Regions from separate parts of the Homo sapiens genome. Here region 2 is linked to region 1. The links are contacts of gene promoters, found by promoter capture Hi-C in human tissues and cell types (Jung and others, 2019). All regions are on one chromosome and are shown on one strand. The core of a region is centred on a gene start or on the middle of the fragment in contact, and the rest is flanking DNA. Distances in the headings are between cores, read along the strand shown.

Region 1 (3,618 bases), core at 851-3,350:
CTCCCAATGGCTAAAGCTGGAACAATTTGAGCAAAATAAAATAGCATTATAATCCAAAGTATAAAGTGAATATCCATGAGTCTATACTGATATAAAGGTTTGAACAAACCAATAAATGGAGAAGAGACAAATCTGTGCAGAATAATTCCAAAAAATTTATGTATATATACTCCAACCTTAAGAACAGGAGCATGGAGCTGGGCACAGTGGCACACACCTATAATTCAAGCTACTCGGGAGACTGAAGCAGGAGGATTGCTTAAGGCCAAGAGTTTGAGGCTGCAGTGCATTATGTTTGCACCTGTAAATAACAACTGTACTCCAGCCTGGGCAACATAGCAAGACCCTGTCTCTAAAAATATTAAACAGTGGGGGTGGGGAATATAACTCCCCATTCCTTAGGTGTGGCTGCACACCCAGGAGGTGGAGGTTGCAGTGACCTGAGATCCCATTCCTGCACTCCAGCGTGGGTGATAGAGCGAGACTCTGTCTTAAAAAAAAAAAAAAAAAAAAAAAAAGAAAGAGAAAGTCACTTTCAGTGATGGTAAGTTAGTATCTCCCAAGGTGATTTCATTCTACTTTTCAACAACTTTAATAATTAGAAAGTTCTTCCTGCTGAGTTGAAACCAGCTGCTCTCTAATTTCCTCATTTATTGCATGAATGAATGAATGAGAAGTTAACTAGCTCCATGAGAGCAGGGACACATTCTGATTCTGTTTTACCTTACTCAGCACCTGGCACTCAGTAGACACTCAAAGATTTGTGAATGAGTAAATGGTGAGTTGGCTGGGGGAAGGGCTTCAACTTCTATAACCCCCCCTACACATACTTACTAATACACCCACATAGCTATGAATACATATATGCAAAGGTTACAAGAACTTTTTGGAGTAGTTACTGGTATGTATGTGGATATGTATGTTTGTGCCTATCAGTTAGTAATCCATAAATGTTCATTTAAATCTTTACACCCTTATACATAGGTTTTAAAAACAATTTAACTAAAGCTAAGAGAAGTAAAGTAATCACGTGCACAATAAGTGAGAAAGGAGTGGGGTCAGTCGTGTCCCAAGTCCCTGTTAAAGGTGAGGAATGAATCAGAAACCTGGGGCTGGGGCAGTGCCTTCTCAGCATTTCTGGGGAAAAGCTCCTCGACCAGCAGCCAAGCAAGGACTGTGTGGCTTTGGGCAAATCACGTCACCTCTGGTTAGGCTGCATCCTCACCTGAAAACAAAAAGCTTCTAAACGGGAGGTGAACGCTGAGCGTGCAGGGACAGAGGGGAGGGGCAGGCGCGGGGGACGGGACCGGGGGACCAGAAGGTGGAGGAGGGACAGTCACTAATGGGCACCTGGGGGACGACAGAATCTGGACAACAAACTCCCGTGACACGAGTTTAACCTATGTAACACACCTGCACACGGACTCCTGAACCTAACATAAAAGTTAAATTAAAAATAAAAACAAAAAGCGTGGGCCCAGTGGCCTCTTAAACCTTTGCCAGTTCCAAGGCCCTGGTATTCTGGGCTTTTGTTGCTACTGTTTTGTTTTTTCCAAGCTCTGGAGTGTTTGCAAATTTAAGTTTAACACTGCCCCATCATCTCCAGCAAGTCACTTTCCCTGCTCAGTCTCCTCACGGGTCCAGTGAGGCGCCGGCCTACAAGGATCTTCACGGTCTCTTCCATTCTTTACTTTTCGGAGTGACCAACAAAGCCTAAAGCAAATAAAATTTACACTCGCAGGTGGGTGACGGACTTCTGACAGGGAAAACCCCGAGGGAGCCCTTTCCACACCGATTCTCAAGGGGAAAATAGGGTGGGCAGGATCTCCTCCCCTCACCCGCCAAAGCCCTGAGGTAAAGCTCTGAGCTCGGCAAGTCAGAGAGCACTACGCCGGCGAAGAACGAAGAAAGAAAAACGCGAAGAGACAGGTCTGCCGAGGCCTCATCCCCAGCGCTGCAAACCCACCTGCTCACCAGGTCCTCAGAGACCGCTCAGGGTTTCCCAAACTTCCAGAACGTTCCGTGAGCAGTGAGAGGCGCCGCCGGTAGGGCAGAGCGCCCAGGGTGCCTGGGGCAGGGTTCTGCAGTCGCTGGGCTTCTGCGCAACCGCAGACCCCGCAAACCTTTTCCGCGCTTCTGGCTCCCTAGAGCGAGGTTTGCAGGAAGCCGGAAGTGGTTAAGAAGATACAAGATTTGTAGGCCTGGCGCGGTGGCTCATGCCACTAATCCCAGCACTTTGGGAGGCCGAGGTGGGCGGATCACGAGGTCAGAAGTTTGAGACCAGCGTACCAACATGGTGAAACCCCGTCTCTACTAAAAATGCAAAAATTAGCTGGGCATGGAGGCGCGCACCTGTAATCCCAGCTACTCGAGAGGCTGGGGCAGGAGAATCGCTTGAACCCAGGAGGCGGAGGTTGCAGTGAGCGAGATCGCACCACTGCACTCCAGCCTGGGTGACAGGGCAAGACTCCGTCTCAAAAAAAAAAAAAAAAAAAAAACAAGATTTTTGCGTGTTAGACTCAGTTGTCCGGAATTGATTTTCACAGTTTTCTAAAATTCAGGCTCAATTCTTAGATTTCTGTCATTTGCAACATAAAATCAAAGTGGCCTTCAGTTTATCCAAATTATGAAAAAGGTAGATTTTCATGAGCAGCTGTCAAAAGGACATACAGGGGCCTGTGTGTTTGCTTTTTAGGACCCCATTATGTTCAGACCTAATTGAAGCTCAGCAATTTATTAAGTGTCACAATCATAAAAATGTAAAAAGACAAAGACCACTACTTGCCTTGAGCCTAATGGTTAGGATACAAAACTATGTGCCTTACTTTGTAAAACAGGTATTCCTGTAGAAAGAAAGGTGCTCCAGGAAAAATCCTTTGGAGCACACTTGTGATGTGCTGTTAATTTTTCCCTGTGATAACCATTTTGTATGTTTGGCATTTTGTATAACTGATATTAAAATTAGGTGCACTCTTGCTGCCTCATTTGGGCAGTTTGTTAAGCCACCACACCTGGCCTCTTGTTTATAAATTACCTGGTCTAAGGTATTTTGTTATCGTGGCCATAATGGACTAAGACAATTCCTCCTCTCTTCAAATCTCCAGAACTTATTCCTCATCTTCATTTTCGGCTGAAGTGAAATAGTTACTGCTAATATTTCATAAAGATTTATGATTTTAATAGTATTTAGTATTTAATATTAAATACTATTCAAATGAGATAAATAAAAGCATCCAGAAACGAAGTTCCACAGATGTCCACCTACCAATCTACCAACATCTATATGCCAGATTCTGCTTTCTTTCCAACTATAGTAGGTGAACTGTATAATCCTATGTAAGGCCAGCCCTCAAATGGACAACAGAGCCCATCTCTTCTTGCTTACCCAAGAATATAGCTCCACCGGCCAGTCGCGGTGGCTCACGCCTGTAATCCCAGCCCTTTGGGAGGCTGAGGCAGGTGAATCACAAGGTCAGGAGATCAAGATCAGCCTGGCCAATATGGCAAAACCTCATCTCTACTAAAAATACAAAAAATTAGCCAGGTGTGGTGGTGCACACCTGTAGTCCCAGCTACTTGGGAGGCTGAGGCAGGAGAATTGCTTGAACCTGGGAGGCA
Region 2 (3,804 bases), core at 1,109-3,608, 88 kb after region 1:
CCCCTTGCCTTTATTCATATAGCTAAACTCAGAGGTCACCTTGAACTATATAAAACAGATAGAAGTTGAAGAGGCATCCCTTTCCAAATGGCCTTCCCCTAAGATCCCAATCCTATGCCATGTGTTTCTCCTAATGTGCCTACTAGGAACTTTAGGGTTCTGTGGGACAAAGATTTACACAGTGGAGAAGAAGAGCAGTCTGAGCTAGCTCAAGAACACATACCAATCGGAAAACTTTTAAATTTCTTCAATGACTGTGGTAGAATGAACTCTGAATTATGATTTGACAAATGTGATTTAAGCTGGGTCCGGTGGCTAACATCTATAATCCCAGTACTTTGGGAGGCCAAGGTGGGAGGATCACTTGAGATCAAGAGTTTGAGACTGGCCTGGGCAACACGATGAGACCTCACCTCTACTAAAAATTATAAAAACTAGCAAGGTGTGGGAGTACACATCTATAGTCCCAGCTACTTGGGAGGCTGAGGCAGGAGGATCACTTGAGGCCCTATGTTGACCTCACATAAAAAGAGAGAATTTAATTAGATCATCATTACATAATGTGTGTGGTTTTTTTTTTTTTTTTGAGACAGAGTCTCGCTCTGTCGCCCAGGCTGGAGTGCAGTGGCACGATCTCAGCTCACTGCAACCTCTGCCTCCCCAGTTCAAGCGATTCTCCTGCCTCAGCCTCCTGAGTAGCTGGGATTACAGGCACGTGCCATCATGCCCAGCTAATTTTTGTATTTTTAGTAGAGACGTGGTTTCACCATGTTGGTCAGGCTGGTCCTGAACTCCTGACCTCTGGTGATCCACTCGCCCTGGCCTCCTGAAATGCTGGGATTACAGGTGGGAGCCACCGTGCCCGCCCTACATAATGTATTTTTTAAAAGCACATATATAGAATAATAAATGAAAACAAATAAAAGGTAGATACAAGTAGTGAAAACAACTCACTTCTCTTGTTGTTACATATCTTTGCTATGTATTGCCCACGCCATGTATTTTCATGTTTTGTGTTTTGGACGTTTCTAAGCACACTTATTTCTCAGTTAGGTTGAAGAGTTTAATTTCTCTTTATACACTTAATAAAGACCATTGAACAGCCAATTTGTATATCTAGTCTCTAAATGTATATTTCTGAAGATCTCCTCTCTCAAAGAGGAAAACCTTCTTTGGAAATGTCTCCAGCATAGTCCTTCTGGCAAGGTCAGTGATTTCTACCTCTTTATTTATGAACTGCTATTAATTTGATTTTGTAATATCCCTTCCTAAAAGTGTTATATTAGTATTTAAAAACTTGAACGTAGGCCAAGCGCAGTAGCTCACGCCTGTAATCCCAACACTTTGGGATGCCAAGGCAAGGTGAATTACTTGAGGTCAGGAGTTCAAGGCCAGCCTGGCCAACATGGCAAAACCCCATTTCTACTAAAAATACAAAAATTAGCCAGGCGTGGTGGCGCATGCCTGTAATCCCAGCTACTCAGGAGGCTGAGGCAGGAAAATCACTTGAACCTGGGAGGCAGCTGGAGGTTGCAGTGAGCTGAGATCCCACCACTTGACTCCAGCCTGGGTGACCGAATGAGACTCCATCTCAAAAAACAAACAAAAAAAAGAAATTGAATGTAAATATTTGCTTTGCATATTAACAGTTTAAACAATTAAGATCCTTTTGAGATAACTGGAGATACTTTAAGTTATATAAAATATATACTGTGTGTATATATATGTGTGTGTGCGTATATGTGTGTGTGTGTGTGTGTGTGTGTGTGTAAATATATATATATATATATTTTTTTTGAGACAGGGTTTGGCTCTGTTACCCAGGCTGGAATGTAGTGGTATAATCATGGCCCACTGCAGCCTCAAACTCCTGAGCCATGATTGTGTCACTGCACTCCAGCCTGGGCAACACAGCAAGATCCCATCTCAAAAAAATAAAAATAAAAGAAAAATTTAAAAACTACCTGTTATGAACTGAAATGTCTGTGTTCCCTCCAAATTCATATGGTAAAGCCCTAACCCCCAGTGTGGTCATATTTAGAGATGGGGCCTCTGAGAAAGTAATTAAGGTTAAATGAGGTCACATGGGTCCTTGATCTGATAGGATTCGTTTCCTTATAAGAAGAAATACCATAAAACTCTCTCTCCAAGTGCACGCACCAAGGAAAGGCCACATGAGTGTACAGCAAGAAGGCGGCAGAATGCAACCCAGGGGCAGAGCCCTCATCAGACACCAAAACTGCTGGCATGTTTATCTTGAACTTCCAGTTTCCAGAACCGTGAGAAAATAAATACCTGTTGTTTAAATCACCCAGTTTGGATATTCTGTTACAGAAGCATAAGCAGATTAACACAATACCTCTATTAATAAATGCTCTCTATTACTTCCCGTTTCAGAAAATGTACTTTGTTGAATTCTACATGAGAAATATTTCCTTGAACATCCAGGGAAATCAGATTCATAAAAAGTGCTTTGTATGAAATACAATTTACAATCATTTGCAGTCAAATGGCCCTGTAAAAATATGCTTACCCTTGAAGAGTAACGTACTCTTGGGAGCTTTCAGCCCAACAGCCACTCAGCATTGCAGCAAAATAACTAGATCTGGCACTCAAAATGGCCCTAAAGGGAAGAGGGGGGAGAAACACAGGTAAACATTTACATATTATTCAAAATGTAATTTTTTATGAAAATTTTCATCTTTATGTATTAAAACACAATAATCTATTTGTTTTGTTTGTATTCATAGGCAGGATTACTACATAATAAAACTTATAAGCTTATATTTATACCTAAGGGTTTTTTTTTTGTTTTTTGTTTTAAGAGACAGGATCTTCCTCTGTCACCCTGGCTGGAATGCAGTGGCGTGATCATAGCTTACTACAGCCCTGAACTCCTAGACTCACGTATGATCCTCCCACCTCAGCCTCCCAAGAAGCTAACACTACAGGCATGCAGTATCACACTCAACTTGATTTTTAAATTTTTTGTAGAAATGGGGTCTCACTATGTTGTCCAGACTGGTCTCAAACTCTAGACCTCAAGCAATCCCCCTATTCCTGAAGTGCTGGGATTTATAACTAAGCATTTTGATTGTTTAAAACATTAATTCCAATGCCCTTGCTGTCTTTTTTTTTCTTTGAAGGTTCTTTAATTTTTTAAGCTTATAAAAACATAATTGATATTTAATTTTTTAAATATAAAAAGGTAGCTAAAGACAAAGTACTGATCAGCAAACCCTAATTTAATATGGATTATTTTGGAAATTTAAAAATTTTTAACAAGGTGGCCTTCTATCTCATACTAAAGTGTAAATCAAGGCTCTTTCCCAGATTTACACTTCATACTTAGTAACAATCTAAAACCTTTTCAAATCAATGAAAAAAAAACCAAAAAACAAAAAACCTACCATGACCAATTTAAACGACCTGGGAAAGGGTAGGAGAGGTGACCAATAATCAGAGCCAGTTGCACGCAGATGGAAAAATGCTTGCTGTCACTCCCAAATATATCCCTACATTACATGTAAATCATAATGGAAATAAATGCCTACATTACAGAACTATGAAATTCTATTTAAAAAATAATAGGCCAGGCACGGTGACTCACGCCTGTCATCTCAGCACTTTGGGAGGCCGAGGCGGGTGGATCACCTGAGGTCGGGAGTTCAAGACCAGCCTGGCCAATATGATGAAACCCTGTCTGTGCTAAAAAAAAAAATACAAAAAAATGGCCGGGCGCGGTGGCTCACGCCTGTAATCCCAGCACTTTGGGAGGCTAAGGCAGGCAGATCACGAGGTCAG

The links. The method cuts DNA at HindIII sites, captures the fragments that hold promoters and counts their contacts. A contact is called where the count stands out against the background at its distance.
Region 2: a contact is called between a fragment that was not itself captured here and the fragment with the promoter of C1orf146 in region 1, in 3 of the 25 tissues and cell types used here (adrenal gland, dorsolateral prefrontal cortex and spleen).

The regions. Positions count from the first base shown.
Region 1 is chr1:92,216,397-92,220,014 of GRCh38, reverse strand. It overlaps C1orf146 (chromosome 1 open reading frame 146), which reads right to left and starts at 2,100. Exons shown (of 6, transcript NM_001012425.2): 1 at 1,967-2,100. The HindIII fragment of the contact is 16,370 bases long and covers 1-3,618 here.
Region 2 is chr1:92,128,506-92,132,309 of GRCh38, reverse strand. It overlaps BTBD8 (BTB domain containing 8), which reads right to left. Exons shown (of 18, transcript NM_001376131.1): 5 at 2,534-2,623. Among named protein-coding and RNA genes, the nearest start is that of BTBD8, 50 kb to the right of the region's middle. The HindIII fragment of the contact is 5,139 bases long and covers 1-3,804 here.